Linked DNA regions of Homo sapiens: region 1 is linked to region 2. Evidence: promoter capture Hi-C in 16 types of primary human blood cells and fetal thymus (Javierre and others, 2016). All regions are on one chromosome and are shown on one strand. The core of a region is centred on a gene start or on the middle of the fragment in contact, and the rest is flanking DNA. Distances in the headings are between cores, read along the strand shown.

Region 1 (5,872 bases), core at 1,563-4,062, 110 kb before region 2:
CTTAATGAAATTTTATTTCCTTTTTGTACCTGTCTCCAGAATGAATCTCCTTAACCTTACACTATACTGTCTCATTTCATTTATTTCATGATTTGGCAGATGAAGATACAAATATAATAGCCATAATCTGTGATAGTTCTGTGAGTAGAAGAGGCATTTTGTGCAAGGAGAAAAACAAAGGTGGTAACATAGCAGGAATTACTTTTAAAACATTTGTATAATTGTGTAATTGATATGTTATAAAATTATACACTGATTTATGAAAATACACATTGGACATTTTTGCCTTTGTACATGCTAGTTTCTTTTTGGAATAACCTATTCATCTTTACATGTTAAAATCTAGAGTTACCAACACCGCAAAGCCTTCCCTGGCCCTCCTTTTCTTTATATCCCAGCTCCTAAAAAAGCCAAAAATAATTTCTTCCTCATATAACTACCTATTATTATTTGATACGGAGTTTCGGTCTTGTTGCCCAGACTAGAGTGCAATGACGCGATCTCGGTTCACTACAACCTCCGCCTCCCAGGTTCAGGCAATTCTCCTGTCTCAGCCTCCTGAGTAGTTGGGATTACAGGCATGCGCCACCATGCTTGGCTAATTTTGTATTTTTAGTAGAGACAGGGTTTCTCCATGTTGGTCAGGCTGGTCTTGAACTCCTGACCTCAGGTGATCCATCCTCCTCAGCCTTGCAAAGTGCTGGGATTACAGGCCTGAGCCACCGTGCCCAGTCAATTTTTTATCTATATCTAAGGGCTTTTGTCAGATCGCATAAAAATTAAAATTAATTGGTACCTCTCTACTGGACTGGAAGCTTATTAAAGGCAGGATTCTAATTGTGTCCATTGTAAACCTTGCACTTAGTAGATGTCAATAAGTGTTGGTTGAATTGCTGTTGTCTTTTGAATACAAAAAAACAAGAAGAACACATGTAGTTGCAGACAGATGGAGAAGACTTGTGGTAGTCTCCAGTTGGATTTAATGATAAAGTGAATAGAACAAAACTTTCCCGAAATCCTCATCCACAAGGCTATTAGTTGCCCTACAGGTGCCTATATTATTATAACACAAAACCACTCTACTATAATTACTTATTTAATTATCTGTCTCTCCTACCAGACATTAGTTCTTTGAGGGCAGGGACTCTTTCCTGCTTATTTCTGTACCTCTAGTTCCTATCACATGGTAGCCAGTGAATATATTTAGATTGTTGCAAAAGTAATTGCAGTACTTTTGTACCAACCTAATATATTTGTTCAGTACATTAGTTAAGGGGTAAGAACTATATAGATATTTGAAAATAATCTCCTTGAAGTTTGAAGTTACAGAGAGAAATCGCTAGAGATCAAATATCTAGCAAATGGTAAAGATTCAGGAGTTGAACCCTGATCTGTAATTTGCTCTGATAAGTGTTTTCATATAATTATATTTGATATCTTTCAATTTTATAACAGCTTATAATATTATAGTAAGTTCTAGGCATGTAATTTTGTTGGTTTGGAATTGCCGTAATTGATTTTAGATTTTATTTCCTCTTTTAGGGAAATCTAAAACAAATAAAAGAACAAATAGAAGATCATAAAAAACGAATAGAGAAGTTAGAGGAGTATACAAAGACATGCATGTAGGTAGAGTAAAAAAAATTTCTTGCAGCAATTTTCTTTTATTTTTTGAGAGAGGGTCTCACTCCCATCGCCCAGGCCAGAGTGCAGTGGCGCAGTCATGGCTTACGGTAGCCTCAACTTCCGGGGCTCACATGACGCTCCTACCTCAGCCTGTAGCTGAGACTACAGGCACATGCCACCACACCCAGCTAATTTTTTCTATTTCTGGTAAAGATGGGGTTTCACCATGTTGCCCAGGCTGATCTTGAACTCCTGGACCAAGCAATCCACCCTCCTCGGACTCCCAAAGTGCTGGGATTACAGGTGTGAGCCATCGCACCCCTTGCAGCTTTCTTATTTATGTATTTCTTCCTTTTTTTTTGAGACAGGGTCTCACTCTCACCCAGACTGGAGTGCAGTTGCGTGATCATGGCTTACTGCAGCCTGCACCCACTGGGCTCAAGTGATCCACCTACCTCAGCCCCCTGAATAGCTGGTACTACAGGTGTGTGCCACCACACCTGGCTAATTTTTTTTTTTTGTATTTTGTAGAGACAGGTTTTTGCCATGTTGCCAGGCTGGTCTCAAATTCCTAGACTCAAGCCAGCCACCCACTCAACCTCTCAAAGTACTGGGATTACAGGAGTGAGCCACCTGGCCCAGCCACATTTTTCAAATCAACAAAGAATGAGCAAAATCTTTTTTGCCCATGTTTGGTGTCAGGTTTATTGCATTTTTTACCCTTTAAAAATTGATAGAGCACTGCTCTATTCCCCTGCAATGCCAGACAGGAGTATGTTGTACCTGGTAATTCCTAAATTTTGGTTTATCATTTTGCTGTATAATTTGTTGTTATTTTGTAGGGATTGCTTGAAAGAGAAAAAACAGCAAGAGGAAACCCTAGTGGATGAAATTGAAAAAACAAAATCAAGAATGTCTGAAGTTAATGAAGAATTGAATCTTATTAGAAGTGAATTGCAGAATGCTGGGATTGATACCCATGAGGGAAAACGTCAGCAAAAGAGAGCAGAGGTTCTGGAACACCTTAAAAGACTGTACCCAGATTCTGTGGTAATGAGAATGAATAGTTAATTTAAACAAAAAAAACTAAGCTTTCCTGTTTGCTTTCAACAGTATCTTCTCATTTGGGATTAGAAATATTACCATTATTACAAAGCAATATTATTTCAGACATCTTTAAGTTTTGTGTTTGACTCTTTATATTTAAAATGTGACAGTAACTAATTAGGGTAAAACTTCCAGTAGTAGCTGTAGATAACGTAATTATTGGGGAGAAGCTTGACATGAACATAGTACCCAGAAAGTTCAAATTGTGGCCAGTATCCCCAAAAGGACCTGGATGCTGTGAAGTACTCTGAGCCACCCAGACACATAGCCTCAAACCTCATGTTTTTCATGGTTTTATTTGTTTTTGAAATATTTTTTCAGCAGACATCATTGGCATATTTTTATTCTGTAAGTATGACTGTGCATCTGGTATTGCTAGTGTATTTCATTAGCCAAAATACAGTATCACTTGTTGCTTGGGGTGCCAGCATCACAAGATTATTTCCTTTTGTATCGGGGTGGCATCTGATCCTCTTGTCCCTAACATCAGTGTATACTGTGCAGTCCTTATTTTATGATATGGCCTGTTTTCAGCATTTGAGACTGGTAACCACTGCTCTGTTTTGAAACACCTACCGGCCAGGGCAGTGTCTCACGTCTATAATCCTAGCACTCTAGGGGGCTGAGGCTGGTGGATCACCTGAGGTCAGGAGTTTGAGACCAGCCTGGCCAACATGGTGAAACCCTGTCTCTACTAAAAATGCAAAAAGTAGCCGCACATTGTGGCAGGCGCCTATAATACCAGCTCCTCAGGAGGGTGAGGTAGGAGAATCGCTTGAACCCGGGAGGCAGAGTTTGCAGTGAGCTGAGATCACACCATTGCACTCCAGCCTAGGCCACAGAGTGAGACTCTGTCTCCAAAAAAAAGGAAACATCTACCATTGGCCTCCATATCCACACTTTCATGGTTTTCCTCCTATGTCTCTGGCCACCCATCTTCATCTCCTTTATAGCATCTGTTTTGACTTTCTGACTCCTAAATGTTGGTTTCGACTTCTGGATAATGATGGAGGAGTAAATCTAGGTCACAAAATCTAGATCCCCCAATTCCTATCCAAGTGACAAAAACTAGTGAAACACACACACACACACACAACTAGTTAAAAAAAAAATCGACCTGATGCCATAAACTTTAGAAAATGGTGATAATCTAGGATTTAAAAAAAAAAAAAAGTATTGAAGTATAGCATTGCTTTTTCTCAACTCCACAGAAGCTGAACTGATAAATTGACTAATTCCTGAGAATTCTCACCTAGTATTCCTTGATCTAGCAAGAAGCAAACTCACATGTATGTGTTTCCTTTTCCTCTTCTAACTGGAGAGAGATTTAAAAACTGGTGAACTGGGTGCCTGTAATCCCAGCGCTTTGGGAGGCCGAAGTGGATGGATCACTTGAGGTCAGGAGTTTGAGACCAGCCTGGCCAACACGGTGAAACACTGTCTCTACTAAAAATACAAAAAATTTAGCTGGGCGTGGTGGTGCATGCCTATAATCCCAGCTACTTGGGAGGCTGAGGCAGGAGAATTGCTTGAACCCGGGAGGCAGAGGTTGCAGTGAGCACCACTGCGCTCCAGCCTGGGTGACAGAGTGAGACTGTTTCAAAAAAACAAAAACAAAAAAACACTGGTGAATTGGGGAATGTGAAGCTCATATGCTCTCTAATGGAAGTGAAGACCCAAGTTCTCACTTACTAGGGCTTTAAAATTGAGAGGCCATTTTGAAGCCCTCTCTTCAAGATGGGATTTGTCCTCCTCCCTCAAAGTAGAAGAACCTTGGTATGGGATATTAATTAAAAACTCAGACGAGAGAATTCAGGTACTTAAATGAAGTATGTTCTTTAAAAGTCTTAGGTGAGTTCTCACTTGCCCCTACCATCCAATCCCTTACAAGAAAGTAAACAGAATAGGAAATACTTATTCTATCAACTGTTGCTCGGAGGAGGTGATTGTCTCACTTCTGTGAGAAAGGGAATTAATAAAAGTTATCCGCCATAGCAAATCAAAGATCTGAACAGAGCTACTCACATTAAACATAAGCAAAGTGAAAAGAATCACTGTGGCAGCTATAGGTACATATAATAACAACAAAGAGAAAGAAACTATTTTAAAACATTTAGAAGTCAAAGAGCCCAGTCTAGAAGGTTACAGAACAAAATCCCCATAAATGTTTTGCACTATGGGCAATTTAATAAGAACTTGAATTTATAAAACTAGATTCAAATATGAGGTAAAACAATAAGATAAAAAGGAAAATGTAAGCTGTGAAAACAAATCAAGAATAGGCATTATTACTGAATAATTATAGTTAGCATGTAAGTAATAAATAACATAGACAAATTAACAAATTAGAAGCATTAATAGCAAGAAATACTAATAAATTAGAAGTAGCTGCCAGGCGTGATGGTGTGCGCCTATAGTTTCAGCTACTCGGAGGCTGAGGCAGGAGAATACTTGAGTTTGAGACCAGCCTGGGCAACATAGCAAGACCTCATCTCTTTAAAAAAAAAAAAAAGGTAGCAAATAATGGATTACACAGCTGAAAATCAAATTATTGACCCTGAAGAAAGGCCTGAGATAATCACAAATTAATGGAGAAGAAAAAGTCAAAGATATTTAAACAGCAAAGACAGTGATGGTTTATCATAGGAAAATGGTATTCTTGAAGTAGAACCTAACAAACGGAGGAAAGAGTCCAAAGATACAAAATTAAACCTTCAAATATTCTAGAGACCACTGATACATGATGCTTGACATTCAAACATTTTCTAGTAAAGTTTTTGAACTTCAGTCTAATTAATTCTTGACCATTCTTCAGGTCTCAGCTCAAGTAACACTTCATGGAAATCCTTCCTAGACTTTTTTTTTTTTTTTTTAAGATGGAGTCTTGCTCTGTTGCCAGGCTGGAGTGCAGTGGCATGATCTCGGCTCACTGCAACCTCTGCCTCCCGAGTTCAAGCGATTCTCCTGCCTCAGCCTCCCGAGCAGCTGGAACTGCAGGCGTGCGCCACCACGCCCAGTAATTTTTGTATTTTTAGTAGAGACAAGGTTTCACCATGTTGACCAGGATGGTCTCGATCTCTTGACCCCATGATCTGCCCGCCTCGGCCTCCCAAAATGCTGGGATTACAGGCGTGAGCCA
Region 2 (5,753 bases), core at 1,210-3,709:
GAAGTTGGGATCCCACAGGCAGGTCCCGTTGGCACCCACCCTGACCAGGTAGGCATTCAGGATCTGTGAGGCCTTGGACACATCCCCAATGGCATCCAGGCTGGGCAGGTCACTGCAGGGGATCAGGTCAAAGGCCACAGCTTTGTAGGGACCTGTCCTCCCACCCTCTGTTTGTAGGAACGTTGAGCCCAGTGGGGTGTTGGTGCTGTCTTGCACTGAGGCATTCCTGGAAATGGCTGCAGAGGCGGTGCAGGGAGTCAGGCTTCTGGCCACTCCGGCTCAGCGACACTCACTCAGTTATTCATCAAATGCCTGATCATCCTTTCTGCCCCAGCTCTGTGCTGGGCACTGGCATCACAGGCATGGGGCAAACTTAGTCTCTGCCCTCTCAGTGCAATGTGGGAGATGGACAAGGATCACCTCCCTGCTTTGGGCGCTGTGTCTGACTCTCGCCTTATCTTGTGACATTCCTGCAACCCCCCATCCCAACAGACCTTTGTCTCTTCATTGCTGAAAGCCCTGGATTCTCTCTTGTGTAAAATGGGAAAGGAAGGTCATCGGTCCAAGGGAAATAACGTGGAGGCAGGACCCAGCTCTCCTCCTTACTAGATGGGTGACCTTGGACAACTCACTCTACCTCTTCAGACCCTAGTCTTCTATGAAATGGGAGAGAAATTCCCTACAGTGCCCGGAGATCAGGCACTTTAGTTTATAGTCAATAAACACATGCTGAAAGAAGAAAAGGATGGTCCCGAATGAGCTGTTGTAAATGACTGGCTGCTAGAAATGCAAGAGTTGATGTTGGCTTGTCTCAGAAGCTCAGGATCCCCTCCAGGGCAGGGGTTGGGGCTGGGCCACAGCAGCAGGTCCAAATGCATGGTTTTGTCTCAGAAACACCAATCTTGAGCCACCTTTCGAAGCCTCAGGAAGGACCTTGGGCTTGGGGACTAGAGAGATCAGGATTCACTCTCCAGCCCTGGGAGGTCCAGGGGGGGTTATTCCACCTCTCTGAGCCTTGCTTCCCTGCTCTGTAATGGGGATTGGTAATAGCTACCTTACAAGCTGGTTGTAGATACTAGCTCTATGGTGTGCAAAGTGCCTGGTATGGTGTAGGTGTTCAGTGACTGGTGGTGTTATTACTTCCCTCACTAACTGGATGTCCCTGCAAGGCAAGGACAGGTCTGTGGCTGCAGTACCTGTTTAATGAGACGACTACAGGCATGGAGGGTTCCTCTATCTGCCTCCTTCCCTCCTCCCTGCAGACAGGTCAGAGCCCCTTTTGGAGTAGCCAGAGGGAAGCAGGACCCTTACCTGAGTCGACCAGGACATACAGGTAGACCTCGTGGGTGCCAGTGAGGGCCTCTTTGCTGTCAAACATGCAGAGAGGCTTTTCCAAGGCCACAGTGGTAAGTGTGGGGTTGTTGGTGGCGAAAGTCACACTGGCCAGTTGGGGCTGCAGGTTCACAGCTGGAGGAGGCAGTGAGGATGGGAACTGACCTCCGGCAGAACTGTCCACACCCACTCTGCTTGCAGTTACTGAGCACGTGTTGTGTGCCAGGCCCTGGGCTTCACCCTCCCCCTGGGCCACCGCATAAGCTGTCTCAGACACTGCCCCCTGCCCAGTCATCCTGCTCAGAAATGGAGCGGTCGGGCCAAACTGCTGCCTTCTCTCCCTGCTGCAGACACTCAGTTGCCAAGAACTCCACTGCCCCTCCTAAGCATCTCTCCATGCCATCGGCCCAGCCCTCCTCCGTCCCACCTTCCTCACCTGGGCCCTCCCCCCACATGCAAGTCTGACTGCCTCATTCTCTGGCTATGGCCCTCCCATGGTCCCCCAGCGCCCCCTGACGAAGTCCAGCCTCTCTGGAAAGGCAGTGAGGTCCTGAAGTTCTGGGCTTTGCTTTGTTCGGTCTCCAGCCTCACCCCTTCCCCCACAGGCTCCCCTCACCCCAGGCTCCAGCTGGTCCCATGGACTGGCAGTTCCCAGGACAGCCCAATATTGTCTCCCCTCCATGAACTTGCCCATGCTGCTTCCTCGGCCGAAATATCTCTCTATCTGCCCCCGTCCAGGCGTCACCATGGGGCTGGGGCTAGTCCCTTCTCTGTCCTACCGCAGCCCCCCTGCATGTTGGTCTCTTGCAACACACATCGCAGGGCTGCAGCCATCTGTGAGCCCTCGGATTCCCAACAGAGGAGGCCCGTAAACGTTGGCTATCACTATTATTCATAACAGTAATATCTGGGTCCCCAGCGCCAGGAATCAGGGTCCAGGCGGCGGGCGCCCCAGGGCAGAGCTGCCCGCTCTTTCTGGGCTCAGCCCCCTCCTGCCCTTCACCGCCTACCCGAGCCGAACCGCAGGCAGCCGAGGGCCAGCAGGGCCCAGAGCGGAGGCATCGCCCGGGAGGAGCCGCCAGAGCGCGGGGCGGGCGGTCCAGCGAGCAGGCGCGGGCACCAGACCTGTCCCTGCCAGGGCACCTGCCAGCTCTGGGCCCTCGGCGCGCCCCGCCCCCGCCTGGGCTGGCCAATCCGCGGCCTCCTCGCGCGCTATTTGCATACGGCCCTGCCCCGGGCTTCCCCGACCCGTGCGCGGTGCCCCAGGGCGCAATCCCACCGGGCAGGACCTTCTCCAGCCCGCATCAAAGCGCCTACTGTGTGCCCAGGCCAGGGCAGCCCTTCCACAGCGTCTCTCACCAATGGGACCTTGAGGGCAAGCCACTCCCACTTGGAGCCTCAGTTTCCATACTGTAAAATGACGCTAATTTCTACAACTATTTATGGAGGCTCTATTACGTGCCAAACACTCACTGGGCACTCGCGAAACAAAATGGGTTGACCAGTAAAGGTGATATCCTGGAAAACGAAGTCCAGGCCTGGGAGCTATCCAGAGACCCTAGTATGACGCCTAGTATGACCCCTTCGGTTCACAGGTACAAGCCAAGGCCCGGGAGGCTGGGGGGTGGGGCAGGGGGTAAGTATTGGAGCGTGGTGGGGGGCGCGGGGACAGGGACTCACCCCCGGCCGCGCTTGGTCTCCTGGAGACACTGAGGCTGGTGGAACCCAGGAGTCCAGTGCTCAGCCCAGGGCTGCCTCCAAAGGGATGGAGCAGGGTGTTAATGCCTACTTCTTAAAGGGGCGTTTGAAAATTATGATGGACTCCTCACCATGACTGTGCGGTTCCCTCCATCACAAGAATCTGTGCACATCTCTGGATGCACCTTAAATCAATTTTACATTTAAGAAATAAAAGTAAGTCAACAAGGATAGGAAAAAAACAACAGAAGAGGGGCAAGGAGGCTCATGCCTGTAATCCCAACACTTTGGGAGGTCAAGATAGGAGGATCCCTTGAGGCCAGGAGCTAGAGACCATCCTGGGCATCATAGTGAGACCCCATCTCTACCAAAAAAAAAAAAAAAAAAATTAGCTCAGCCTAGTGGGGCATGCCTGTAGTCCCAGGATTGCTTGAGCCCAGGAGGTCGAGGCTACAGTGAACTATGATCATGCCACTTTGAGCTATGATTAAAGCTGCAATAACAGAGCCAGACCCTGTCTCTTAGAAAAAAGATAAAGAAAATCAACAGAAACTAATTAATCTCTGTATGACGTTGATGACATAACCTCACTTGCAGAAAAAGAATAAAACGATCTGAGTAATTATAGAGCTGGGTTGTCCAGGGGTACCTCCTTAGTGGAGTACACTCTAAGAACTGGGAGGCCTGTGACAGAACCCCAAACCTCACTAGTGACTTTGTTATTGGCAGTGGGGAGGGCGGAGCCATTCCGAAGCAACTTTGGGTTATCCTAGGATTGGTGGTACCAGAACCCAGATTCTCACTGTAGGATGAGGGAGATTTGGAATGGAGGAAGGAAGCACATGAGGTCAGTGTGTCCCATTATTGGGGATGTTCCATTTCATCATTTGGTAAAGTTGGTATCTCTGGATTAATGTATGTCTTGTTCCCTAAAAATCTTTTTTTTCTTTTTTTTTTTGGGGGGGACGGAGTCTTGCTCTGTCACCCAGGCTGGAGTGCAGTGGCGTGATCTCGGCTCACTGCAAGCTCCACTTCCCACGTTCACGCCATTCTTCTGCCTCAGCCTCCCGAGTAGCTGGGACTACAGGCACCTGCCACCATGCCTGGCTGATATTTTGTATTGTTTTAGTAGAGACGGGGTTTCGCTGTGTTAGCCAGGATGGTCTCAATCTCCTGACCTTGTGATCCACGCACCTCAGCCTCCCAAAGTGCTGGGATTACAGGCGTGAGCCACCGCGCCCGGCCCTTGATCCCTAAAAATCTTTCCCCAGCTGGATGCGGTGGCTCACGCTTGTAATCCCAGCACTTTGAGAGGCCGAGGTGGGCAGATCATGAGGTCAGGAGTTTGAGACCAGCCTGGCCAACACAGTGAAACCCCTTCTCTACTAAATATACAAAAAAACCCAAAAAACTAGCCAGGCGTGGTGGCAGGCGCCTGTAGTCCCAGCTACTTGGACATCCATGTCCCGCCCAAAAGGTTTAACTTGAATCTCATCAATAGGAAACCATCAGACAGTTCTCAGCCTTTTGTTTTGTTTTGCTTCTGTCTTTCCTGATGTGAACATTTGCAAAGCATCCAGTCCAGCTGGTTTGCAGAAAGTCCCTGCATGTGGATCTGTCTGATGGTTTCCTATTGATGAAATTCAAGTTAAACCTTTTGGGCAGGACATGGTCATGACGGTGAGTTCTAATCAGTGCTACTTGGGAGGCTGAGGCAGGAGAATCTCTTGGACCCAGGAGGTGGAGGTTTCAGTGAGCTGAGATCGCGCCGTGCCACTGTAATCCAGCCTGGGTGACACAGTGAGACTCCGTCTCAAAAAAAAAAAAAAAGCAAGCTGAATGTATGACTTCCATTATTTATTTTGTGCTCAAATGTTCCCAGGCCTGGCTGTTGGCAGCTCCTTCCAGCAGCTCTGTGCTAGCTGCTTTCACGCTCCCACCATTCTTTGAGAACCTCTTTACTTTCTGGCACAATAAAATGTCCCGGGCTCCTCTTGACATTCCCTGTCCCAGCTCTGGATTCAGCCATCTCTCCAAGGGGCACTGGTGCCTTTCACTGGAGACTGGAGTTTAAGATCTAACAGTGGCAAGGTGCCTCTTGCAACTGGGTATTACTGCTTCTCGGTCTGTCTCAATGAACCTAGTTTTTTCTTTTTCTTTCTTTCTTTCTTTCTTTCTTTCTTTCTTTCTTTCTACCTTCCTTCCTTCCTTTCTTTCCTTCCTTCTTTCTTTCTCCTTCCTTCCTTCTTTCTTTCTCCTTCCTTCCTTCCTTTCTTCCTTCCTTCTTTCTTTCTTTCTCCTTCCTTCCTTCCTCTCTTTCTTCTTTCTTTGTCCTTCCTTCTTTCTTTCTTTTTTTTTTTTTTTTTTTTGAGACAGTTTTACTCTATTGCCCAGGCTGGAGTGCAATGGGGTGATCTTGGCTCACTGCAACTTCCACCTCCTGGGTTCAAGAGATTCTCCTGCCTCAGCCACCCACCTGAGTAGCTGGAACTACAGGCGCACGCCACCATGCCCAGCTAATTTTTTTGTATTTTTAGTAGAGACGGGGTTTCACCATGTGGCCAGGCTGGTCTCGAACTCCTGACCTCAAGTGATCCACCCGCCTCAGCCTCCCAAAGTGCTGGGATTACAGGCCTGTGCCTGGCCAGCCTTTTTCTTTTCTTTTCACTTAAAAATCTTGTTTTAGTAATTTTTTTCCATAACTAATTACAAATAACAAAACA

The links. Contacts are between HindIII fragments. The CHiCAGO score rates a contact against its expected background, and 5 or more counts as called.
Region 1: a fragment that was not itself captured here is called in contact with the fragment with the promoter of UPK3A in region 2 in 3 of 17 cell types (total CD8 T cells, total CD4 T cells and naive CD8 T cells); the score reaches 5.4 in total CD8 T cells.

The regions. Positions count from the first base shown.
Region 1 is chr22:45,390,438-45,396,309 of GRCh38, reverse strand. It overlaps SMC1B (structural maintenance of chromosomes 1B), which reads left to right. Exons shown (of 25, transcript NM_148674.5): 8 at 1,543-1,625; 9 at 2,469-2,676. Among named protein-coding and RNA genes, the nearest start is that of SMC1B, 20 kb to the left of the region's middle. The HindIII fragment of the contact is 186 bases long and covers 2,720-2,905 here.
Region 2 is chr22:45,281,655-45,287,407 of GRCh38, reverse strand. It overlaps UPK3A (uroplakin 3A), which reads right to left and starts at 2,459. Exons shown (of 6, transcript NM_006953.4): 1 at 2,343-2,459; 2 at 1,312-1,467; 3 at 1-236. The coding sequence starts at 2,394. RefSeq lists a silencer at 2,329-2,638. The HindIII fragment of the contact is 17,600 bases long and covers 1-5,753 here.